Linked DNA regions of Homo sapiens: all the other regions are linked to region 3. The links are contacts of gene promoters, found by promoter capture Hi-C in blood cells and fetal thymus (Javierre and others, 2016). All regions are on one chromosome and are shown on one strand. The core of a region is centred on a gene start or on the middle of the fragment in contact, and the rest is flanking DNA. Distances in the headings are between cores, read along the strand shown. Region 1 overlaps TULP4 (TUB like protein 4). Region 2 overlaps TULP4 (TUB like protein 4). Region 3 holds the start of TULP4 (TUB like protein 4).

Region 1 (3,518 bases), core at 841-3,340, 180 kb before region 3:
TCCCACCGTCACTGCAAGATCAGAACTGGCTGAGGGGCACAGGTGGAGAAGCCAGAGCTCCACCTGAGGGCTACTCCTGAGGTAGTAGGTGGTGTGCAGGATGTGGAGCAGAGCTCAGGGACCCATGGTGGCAGTGAGCAGTGCAGGCGGCGGGTAGGAAGGGGCCCTCTGGGCATAGCCCCCAGGAGGAGGGGAGCAAGGCAGGGTAACTGGGGGCTCCTACCTGAGTGATGTCTTCAAAAGGAAACTCTCTCCGAGTCAGGCTGGGCGAGCCCACAGAGGGCTTGCGCAGGGGCAACCGTGGGGACCGGGAGAGCTCCTGAGCAGCCCGGGGCAGCTTGGGTGACTTGCGGGCCTCAATGCTGATCCTGGGGAGGCAAGGCCAGGAGGGGTCAGGCATCCGTGGCGGGAATGGTGAGCATGGCCCTGACTCCAGCAGTCCTTTCTTTTTCTGGACAGCCAGCCTGGGTGTTGGGTTCTCACCCTGCAGCCAGTGCCCGAATTTAACAAAGCTCTCCCCTTGCTTTTGCTTTATGAATATGAGGAAAGAATGACAACTTTACATTGAATAATATACATTTTAAAATATATTGAGAAACTGGGTGTGGTGGCACACACCTGCAGTCCCAGCTGCTTGGGAGGCTGAGGCAGGAGGATCGCTTGAGCCCAGGAGTTCAAGGCTGCAATGAGCTACGATTACACAACTCCACTTGAGCCTGGATGACAGAGCAAGACCCCATCTCAAAATATACTTAGTATACACTGAAATGAGATCCAGCGATCCATTTGTAAGGAACTCAAAGAATTAACTGTCTTTCACTCTCTGTTGCCTTGGAGCAAGCGTGGAAATGGCCTTCTGCCAGGGGCCTGCACAATCAGTCCTGGGAAAATGGCAGGTGGAACAAGTCATTTCTTACCCTAATGCCAGTGATTCTTATAATTTCTTCTGCAACAGTGTGAATTTCAACAAATTTATCTAGCATTTCACCATCTGCAATATTTAAATCAAATTAGTAAAGTTTTTTGGCTGCCTTTTGATCCCATGTTGTATCTCTGCTTCTCAGTCCCTTTATTTGTAACATGGAGACACACATGTTTAATGACAGTCTACCCCAAAGACAGTGTGATTAAAATGAGTATGGTAAGGTTTAAAACAGTCTATGAAAAAATGCATTAAGTCTCATATATACTGGTTTTGAGCTTGATGAGAAACTCTGGGCTCCTGAGGAGTGGGAGGATGGCAGATTGAGCTCCCTAAAGCTATGATGTGGGACAATTAGCCTGGCTGCTGTGTGGAGGGTCCAAATGGGGAAAGGACAACAGGAGGAGGTCCAGCCACAGGAAGACGGCAACCTGAAGAGGACGTTTAAAGGTGAAGGATTTAGCTGCATGCATTAGATGTCCTCTCTGCTTACATAATGGGAAAAAAGCACTTTGGAAATATAGGAAAGTTCATAATGTTACATGCAATTTTAACAAGCTCTGGAACAAAGATGAAAAAAGACATCAATCAGATTGCTAGAGTAACTGGATATCTGCATATTTAAAAATGAGCATTTACCTCTAATTCATACCAAACACAAAAATTAATCCATAAGCATGAAAGCTAAAACTAGAAAGCTGCTGGAAGAGAACTGAAGAAAGGCTTCATGACCTTAGGTAACCAAAGACATCCCGAACAGGACACAGAAAGCACTAACCACAAAAGAAGAATGCCACGTGCTGGACTATATGGCCATACAGATATCTGACAAAGGATTCAAATCTAGAAGAAAGAACTCTTGGCTGGGTGCGGTGGCTCACACCTGTAAGCCCAGCACTTAGGGAGGCCAAGGCGGGCGGATCACAAGGTCAGGAGTTTGAGACCATCCTGGCCAATATGGTGAAACCCCATCTCTACTAAAAAATACAAAAATTAGCCGGGCGTGGTGGCGCTTGCCTATAGTCCCAGCTACTCAGGAGGCTGAAGCAGGAGAGTCACTTGAACCCAGGAGGTGAAGGTTGCAGTGAGCCAAGATCACGCCACTGCACTCCAGCCTGGGCGACAGAGCAAGACTCCAGCTCGAAAAAACAACAACAAAAAAGAATGAGACATTCAGATGCCCCTGTAGTGATTGCTCTAAAGGGAGGGGAGGGTACACAGGAGCTTGGGCCAGTTGCAGTGGCTCACACCTGTAATCCCAGCACCTTGGGAGGCCGAGGTAGGCGGATCATGAGGTCAGGAGATTGAGACCATCCTGGCTAACATGGTGAAACCTTATCTCTACTAAAAATACAAAAAATTAGCCGGTCATGTGGCACAAGCCTGTAGTCCCAGCTACTCGGGAGGCTGAGGCAGGAGAATCGTTTGAACCCAGGAGGTGGAGGTTGCAGTGAGCCGAGATCATGCCACTGCACGCCAGCCTGGGCAACAGAGCGAGACAAGAAAGAAAGAAAGAAAGAAAGAAAGAAAGAAAGAAAGAAAGAAAAGAAAGAAAGAAAGAAAAGAAAGAAAGAAAAGAAAGAAAGAAAGAAAGAAAGAAAGAAAGAAAGAAAGAAAGAAAGAAAGAACTCTTATAACTCAATAAAACAACCCAATAATAAATTGGGCAGAAGACTTGAACAGACACTTCACAAAAGAAGAAGACAGCCAAGTGGCCAAGAAACATGCAAACGAAGCAGCATCCATCACTGGAGATATCAGAATTAAACTGAAATGAGATGCCACTACACCTATCAGAACAAGGTAGAATTATTTCTAAAAAATGACAACAGAGCCGCTGCTGAGGATGGAAGAAACTGGGACTCTCTTGGAAATTGCTGGTAGGGATTTACGTGGGTGCGGCTACCCTGGAATACTGCTCGGCAGTTTCTAATAAACTTTAACATGTATCTGACCCATGACCATGCAACTCCTTTCCCAAGTTTATATCCAAGAGAAATGAGCGCACATGTCCACAAAAAGACTTGTATAAGAATGTTTATCATGGATTTGTTCATAATAGCCTCAAACTGGAAACTACAAATATCCATTGATTGGTAAACAGAGTAAACTAATTGTAGTATAATCATTACAATGGAATACCACGGAGCAATAAAGAAAAACAAACTACTGATACATGCAACAACATGATGACTCTCAAAATCATTACACTGAGCAAAAAAAAAAAAAGAGCCAGATACAAAGGGAACATATCGTTTGACATATCATATGAAGTTTAAGAACAAGCAAAGCTGATGATGGAAGTCAGAAGAGTGATTACTTCTAGGGAATGGGTATCAAATGGAGGGAGCACAGGCAGACTTTCTGGGATGATGACATGTCTTTTATCTTGAACTTGGGGGAAGACACTGGGATAGCCCTTGTACAATGAGCTAGGTGTTTACGATTTGGACAGATGTGTATCTGTATGTAACTTATACCTTAGTTTTTCATGGCATCAGAAAAAAAATCACAGAATTAAAACTAGAAATCTTAGTGAAGAAAAAGGTTCTACAGTGGATGCGATGTGTTGATGTTTCCCAATTACGGCATTACA
Region 2 (3,580 bases), core at 961-3,460, 200 kb before region 3:
GTAATAAAGACAGAAAATAACTTGGACAAACCACATCGTTTTGAATGCAAACCATTAATGCCTTCTAGAATATCTCCTGCACAATCTAATACACAAAATACGTAAGAAGAAAGGCAAATAAGGATGAGCTCATTAAAACGCATTTGGGAGTCGCAACAGATCTTGCTTGGAAAGTAAAACCAGCAGGATGCTGAATTAAAAAACAAACAAACCAACACTGGAGGAACTGAGGTGCACAAGCAGTGCACGCCACTGCCGAGGTCTGGACATGAACATGCTGGTGGTCTAGTTTGGTCTGGGGCCTATGCACCTGCATCGTGCACTTACGGTTAAAAAAAAAAAAAAGGGAAAAAGAAAATGCCAGTAGTAATAAACTCAGAAATTATGTCCAAATTTACAGTACCAAAATAATGCATTTATAAACAAATGCAAAAACAATACCCCTTTGGTAAATAATACAGTGTCTTTTTCAGTCAAACGCATAACCCATGCTTTTCTACAACACGAAAAAATTTTTATCTACAATAAACAACAAGATCTTAGAACCCTACCCCTCCCCTTAAAAAGAACTGTAAACAGAAAATATAGGTACAAGTAAAGTTACACAAAAATTGCACAAAGCCAAAGAAAATGGAAACAAAGTAAGCCACAACCCATTAGAGTTTTATCAGCCAGAGGTAAGGAATCACACAAATGCTGAAGAGTTCTGAGTTGTGTGCTATTACAGAAATCCCAGGAACTCAAACGACATTTTGGACACATTTTTGTCTCCACTAACTTTGCTTACAACCATTGACTTGGCCAAATGATACAGGCACACAGCGACACCATGGACTCCTTCTCCAGTTGCTGGGCCAAACTTTCCTTTTCAAGAAACCTTTTCAATTTGAAGACCGTGTAACATGGCAGAGCACACTCAGGAATTTGAGGTGACCTAGGTATATATTCCTGTGGTTTTGGGGACAAGTAGTGACTTATTTCATGGCTGTTCTCATGGACATCCAGCTGAGCAGGGCACACCCGTGGAGACTCCTTCTTACCTAGAATCAGTACTTTTGTATATTCTATGAGAACAAACACAATTCCAAACACATTTAGAGGTGCACAAAAGATATTACTTTAAATGCACTGGTTTATATTCAGTACATAGCTCATTAACACAGGAAAAGAAATATTTCTCTACACAAAGGCAATGGTGTGAAATATATTTCCCATGAAAAGTGGAATGATGAGGCTGTTCAGTGCTGCGCTCTTAGGCTGAGAGCTGTAAGGGAGTTTAGAGGGCTGTCCAGGCTGATCCTTTCATTTCACAGATGGACAAGTGGAGGCCTAGCCAGCCCCAGGGACTTGCCCAAGGTCACCATCCAACCCTGTGGCAGAGCAGGCTTGACCCTGGGGTTTGCAGACTTTTTGCTATGATTACAAGATGAACATAACACATTCTTCCATGTCCTTGTGAGACACTTGACAAGGGAGCAATGGCTATGGATAAAAACACTAGCCTGTGAAATTCTTTGATTTATGCTGCCATTAGAGCTTTGAGATTTTCCTGCTTCTTTGGCCCCAATTTTTCTCAGGATATACATTCAATGGGTATATTGTACACAAATCTGTGCCTTTGGTTTGATGAGGTTAGAGCTAAAACAAATTTAGAATTGGTTATATTTGTTAATATATCACACTTCCCTCAAAAAGTCATAGATTCTTTATACAGTTAACCTTTTACTGGACTGCTTTTAAATTTAGGGATTCAATGAGGTATCTTGATATTCATAAACTATTAATAAACATTAAATTTTTAGAAATCTCCTGCATAAAGTATGAATTTTCGTCGTATTTAGTCAACAGAGACTGACTGAATGAAAGCATAGTTGAAAATAAGACCACCACTATTAACTGAAACGTCACACTACTAGGACCGCACAGCCCGCAGCTTGTGTCTGCCTTGGCGCAGGAGGGCAGCCCCTCTTTTCAGGCCCCTGGGTAGAGGGGAGGTGGGCAGTGGCTGCCGGGGTCACTCCGGTACAAACTCATACAAACTCACGTGCGCCAAACATCCGAGACAGAAGCCTGTGCCTCCATCGGGGGAAAGCGCCTTTGGGGGAGGGAGCTAGGCATTTAGAAGCTTAGTTAATTATTTGCTAAAAAAATCCATTTTTTTCTTCTCACATGTATTTGTAGCTTTCATTTCAAAGATTTTCCCCTATATTTGCTCTTATTAAACAGGTTCTAAAATGGGCTTTTTCAGGGTCTTTATATCTCAAAAACAATTAGAACACAAAAAGTGAAGCTTATTACCTAGTAACTCTTTCCTTGGCTACTCTCATTCTAATAGGTCTCCCCTTTTTATTTCAGATCAACTGTTATTTTCAGATAAAAATAAAATTTTCAAAAGAAGAGAATACTATTTGAGTGTTATCTCAAAAAAAAAGTCTCCTTTGTATATAATCAATAACACAAAATACAAAAAAAAATTTTTAAGTGATTAATAGGAATTTTTTCCCAATTAGAAAAGTTACAAATTATCCAGCAAAAAACCTTCTATGGGCCGGGAGTGGTGGCTCACGTCTGTAATCCCAGCACTTTGGGAGGCCGAGGCGGGCGGATCACCTGAGGTCAGGAGTTCAAGACCAGCCTGGCCAACATGGCAAAACCCCATCTCTATTAAAAATACAAAAACATTAGCCTGGCGTGTTGGCGGGTGTCTATAATCCCAGCTGCTTGGGAGGCTGAGGCAAAATAATCACCTGAACCCTGGAGTCAGAGGTTGTGGGGAGCCGAGATTGTGCCACTACACTCTAGTTGGGCGACAAGAGTGGGACTCCGTCTCAAAAAAAAAAAAAAAAAAAAAAAAAAACCTTCTATCATATCCTCTTTATTTCTTGCAGCAAAATATACTGTGACCATGTAAGTCGTTAACAAAGATACTATTTTTCTAAATAAATAAAATGGGTATAACTCACCAAAACGTAACAACAAAATAATTCCTAAGAACACTATGAAAAGCAAGATAAATAATTATCTCCTAAACGACAAAACAGGGGAATTGCATTTAGATTATCTAACAGGCTATAACCATTATTGCACAACCAATAAGCACTGAAACACCATATCAAGCTACATAAACTCATATAAAAGAATTAATTCTGATAACATTGCTGAATTCTTTCTGGAAGAATGCACCCACTAAAAATATCAGGTCCAATACGTTAAATATAAATGAGAAACTGGTATTAGATGGGAAATATCCTTTGCCACATCAGAAAACTTCGTCAGTATTTCTCTGGGGTTTGGAGAGAATTGGGAGTGATGTCATGTCATCTTGATCTGGGAAAAAAATGGGTCGGTTTCTTTTCCAATTTTTTAACTAAAACAGGGGATTAAAAAACGTTTAAATTTGAAAATACTTTTCTGTAGCATCTTCTACTTGTCTGTTTCCAAATAAAATGCAAATTTGGAACCCAACGCCAGCAGATAGTTCCTGTGCTCCTGCACAGCAGGCCCAGGAGAGGGGCCTGATCCTAAACAACATCACAGGTAAGACTGAGAAAAACAAAAACAAAAACAAAAAACAACAACA
Region 3 (3,966 bases), core at 70-2,569:
TGCTTAAAAAAACATGGGGTCCATTTGTATTTTCAAGTTCTCAGAGGAAGAACGTGCTGATCCTTTGGAGAAAGAGCATCGTTAATTAAGTGGTGATCAAGAAACGGTTTTCTTCTTTTTACTCCACTTGGTTATTCTCATTCAGCCTGAGATTCCAGTTTAGTGTAATATGATTCCAGAGACAAAGGGTTGCAAATACATAGATTTCAAGTAACTTAAGGCTTTAAGAATCCCTCTAGCTCGAATTTTTCTCTTCAAAAGTTCGGATGCAGAGACAGAATACACAGGATCATCTTCCTTCTGAAGCCACCCTCTAGCATGTTTCCTGAACTAGACAAATTTCTGCTGCTAAAGCTGAAAAAGATTGCATAAAGGGAAAAAAAGGCACACAAACCGTGCAAAACAGACCAGAGTTTGTGCAGACAAGAGTCCAAATTTTAGGAAGAAAAACAGACTCTCTCCTTGTTGTTTCAGAACCAGAAACTTTCCACCTCAAAGCTTGGCCCTGTGTCCCCGGGGAACGCAGGGCTCCATCGGACTGCTCCTCCACCAGCCGGCGCACCCCTCAGTGCCATAGAGGCTAGAAAGAAGGCCCCTTCACTCAAGAGGCAGAATGTTCCAGCGCTCTTACAGTGGTCCCAGTGTTTGCCCTGGGTGAGTCTTAAATCCTCTTGCTGACAAAACAGAGCCACGTGGCAAGATTTTGTTTCTTTTGCTCGTCTCCCTTCTCGCTCCCCCAGTTAGCACTCCCCTTTTCTGCTCCTAAAGATCTTTTTCCATCTTGATGAAAAAAGCTAATCTTAGAATTAAGTCCATCAGGTAATCTTCTCATACGCAAGTCTTCTTGGACTTGACAGGGAAGTTAATCCCTTAAAACAAAAGCAGAAGCCAGAGTCAGATTCCCCCAGCTGTCTCCCTAGAGAGTGATAGTGTTTTGCTGATGGGTGCTTTCCTGTTCACATTCAGAGACTGTCTCCAAACACCACACCACTAGTCCAACAAAAAGAAAGCTTTGCTTGGATTTTCCTTGATATTTATTTAATAATTATTGGTTTCAATTGCTATTTTACAATATTATCCTATAGATGCAGGAAAAAAGGGGGGGAATAATAAATTAAAATTTCTCAAATACAGTTAATTAAGATAGGCAAAGGAATCAGTTCATTATTCAAACTTGTCCCATCATACTTGAACTTGCTTTCCTCTAGCCATAACCACAGTAGGAGTTACTTTTCAGTCTAGAATTTTAATCCGTCCAAATCACCAAACCCACTGAAAAATAAAGTGCAACAAACACTGTGTGAGCCGCTGCAATGTTTGAAATCACACTTCTTTCTCAGTCACCTTCTCACTTAGTTCCTTCTTTAAACTGGAGAATATTTTTGTGGTTTAATCTGCGCAAATTTTTTTTTCTTCTTTTTGCAGACTTTCTTTACCCGTGCAGACCATATGGAAAACTGGCCATTAGTGATGTATTTTTCTCCCCGGGCTCCTGAGCCCACTGGTGTCAAGTTGCTCCATCTGATTCTTAAATTAATTTTCATCAGTTGTAAAACTCTCAAGTGTGCACAAGAATGAGCCTGTCTTCCCGTGTGAATGTGTAAGTACAGAAAGAAGGTTTTAAATGCACATAGACACACACTCTTCAACTGCCATACGAAGCGTCTGCTTCCCCAGTCATTTCAGGAACCATCAGATTATTCACGGCTGGGAGGCCCTGGAGTCTTACAAATCTGTTTAAAAAAAAAAAAAGATATAAAATTTAAAAACTTTAAAACACTGGAAAATAAAGGTTTTAAGAATAATTGCTGAAACTGAAATGAGAGACCCATCTTTACACTTACATCAAATGGAGCTACTGACTGCACTGAATGGTAAAATCCAATAGTGAAAGGATACACCTCACCAGACTCAAGACAACACACAACAAATGAGAGTTCTGCCTGCCACTGATCGTTGTATTCAATTTGTCAGCAGCTGGGCACATCTGAATGAAATCATAACTGCCATTCTTCCACACTGAACTGTACTTTCTAAGAGACTGAACTCCGAATGTGAGACTCTACCCCTCCAGAGACCATGGTCGCTGTTTAAGCAGGCATCCTCAAAAAGGAGACTGAAATGACTCAGGCAAGTTATCTGGATTGATTTTTTCACGATTAATAAAAGATATTCCCTCAAGACACAAAGCAGTAAGGGCCTTTAAAACTCATTCGTCCCTGATGGCTGGCAGGTCTCGGAGCAAAGCGCAGCTGTTTTCTAAGCTTTTATGTGGTCTACCAGCAATAAAGTTCTAGAGAATCTGTCTCTAGCAAATCCATTCCATCTTCTTCCTACTGCCTGAAGTCCAGGCTGCATCACATCCTCTACAAACACGAGAACACTCTGTCCCTAACTTACTCATCCTCCCTGCCCTCCCGCCCCGCCAGTCCTTCCAGAAAGCAGAGTGGACTTTCTCAAATTCAGCAGACTCTCTCAGTCTCCTGGGGCAGCTGAAGCGGCCCAGCCCCATCCCACAGGAACTGGACACTGAAAGGGAAGGGAAGGGCCCAGGTGTTCGCATTTCTAATAAGCTCCCAAGAGATGCTAATGCTGCTGGGCAGGGAACCAGGCTTTGAGAACTACTGGCCTGTAGCATCAAGTCCCAGCAAAAGACTCTACTTTCATCATAATACTAGGACATAATTTGCCTTCTTCCGTGTTCACATTTGTACCCATGGTGCAAAATCAACAGTGGGTCAAACTGCAAGCTCTTTAACACTAATCAAGGTAGAGGTACCAACTGCACCAGTAGTCATAGATTAAAAAAAAGAAAGAAAAAAAAAGCCAGCCTCACTTAAGAACATCTTTGATACGGCAGTAAAAATTATTAATTTTATTAAATATCAGCCCTTGAGTACATGGTTTTTAATACCCTTGTGTCCCAAAATAGTAGGTACACATAAAGTACTTCTGTGGACTACTGAAGCACCATGGTAGTCCCAGGAAAAAGCATGTATTATACAGTTTAAGTTGCAAAATGAACTGCTTGCTTTTTTCATGGAATACCATGTGACATGGTTTGAATGTTTGGCCCCTCCAAATCTCATGCTGAAACGTAACCCCCAGTGTTAGAGGTGGGGCCTGGTGGGAGGTGTTTGGATCATGGGGGCAGTCCCTCATGAATGTCTTGGTGCTGTCTTCTGACAGTGAGTGAACTCTCACGATACCTGGTTGTTTAAAAGAATGTAGCACCAGGAGTTCGAGACCAGCCTGGCCAACATGGTGAAACCCTGTCTCTACTAAAAATACAAAAATTACCTGAGCATGGTGGTGGGCACCTGTAATCCCAACTACTCAGGAGGCTGAGGCAGAAGAATTGCTTGAAACCGAAAGGCAGAGGTTGCGGTGAGCCAAGATCGCACCACTGCACTCCAGCCTGGGCGAAAGAGAAAAACTCCGTCTCAAAAAAAAAAAAAAAAAAAAAGTGTAGCACCTCCCACCTCTCTTGCTGCTCCCGCTCTAGCTATGTGACATGCTAGTTCCTTGTCACCTTCTGCCATGTTTGTAAGCTTCCTGAGGCCTCACCAGAAACAGATGCCAGCACCATGCTTCCTGTAAAGCCTGCAGAGCCATGAGCCAATTAAAACAATTTTCTTTATAAATTACCCAGTCTCAGGTATTCCTTATAGTAATGCAAATGGGCTAATACCCCAAGTTTACTAAAAAGTATGAATGACAAATTATGGTTGTTCCAGCTGGGATATTTGGCCGACATTTTCTTGAACATGAACAAAGTAAGCCTGCCACTTTAAGGAAAACAACTAACAGAATTTGTTGTTGAAAATAAAAACTGAGCTCCCTCTCCCTCTCCCCCTCCCCCTCCCCCTCTCCCTCTCCCCACGGTCTCCCTCTCCCTCTCTTCCCACGGTCTCCCTCTGATGCCAAGCCGAAGCTGGACTGTACTTCTGCCATCTCGGCTCACTG

What was found. Contacts are between HindIII fragments. The CHiCAGO score rates a contact against its expected background, and 5 or more counts as called.
Region 1: a fragment that was not itself captured here is called in contact with the fragment with the promoter of TULP4 in region 3 in 2 of 17 cell types (M2 macrophages and M0 macrophages); the score reaches 5.3 in M2 macrophages.
Region 2: a fragment that was not itself captured here is called in contact with the fragment with the promoter of TULP4 in region 3 in 2 of 17 cell types (M1 macrophages and endothelial precursors); the score reaches 5.7 in M1 macrophages.

Annotation. Positions count from the first base shown.
Region 1 is chr6:158,490,423-158,493,940 of GRCh38, reverse strand. TULP4 (TUB like protein 4) reads right to left here. Exons shown (of 14, transcript NM_020245.5): 10 at 224-368. Among named protein-coding and RNA genes, the nearest start is that of TMEM181, 68 kb to the left of the region's middle. The HindIII fragment of the contact is 4,804 bases long and covers 1-3,518 here.
Region 2 is chr6:158,508,156-158,511,735 of GRCh38, reverse strand. TULP4 (TUB like protein 4) reads right to left here. Exons shown (of 14, transcript NM_020245.5): 14 at 1-3,580. Among named protein-coding and RNA genes, the nearest start is that of TMEM181, 50 kb to the left of the region's middle. The HindIII fragment of the contact is 165 bases long and covers 2,128-2,292 here.
Region 3 is chr6:158,309,818-158,313,783 of GRCh38, reverse strand. It overlaps TULP4 (TUB like protein 4), which reads right to left and starts at 1,319. Exons shown (of 14, transcript NM_020245.5): 1 at 1-1,319. The HindIII fragment of the contact is 1,254 bases long and covers 1,013-2,266 here.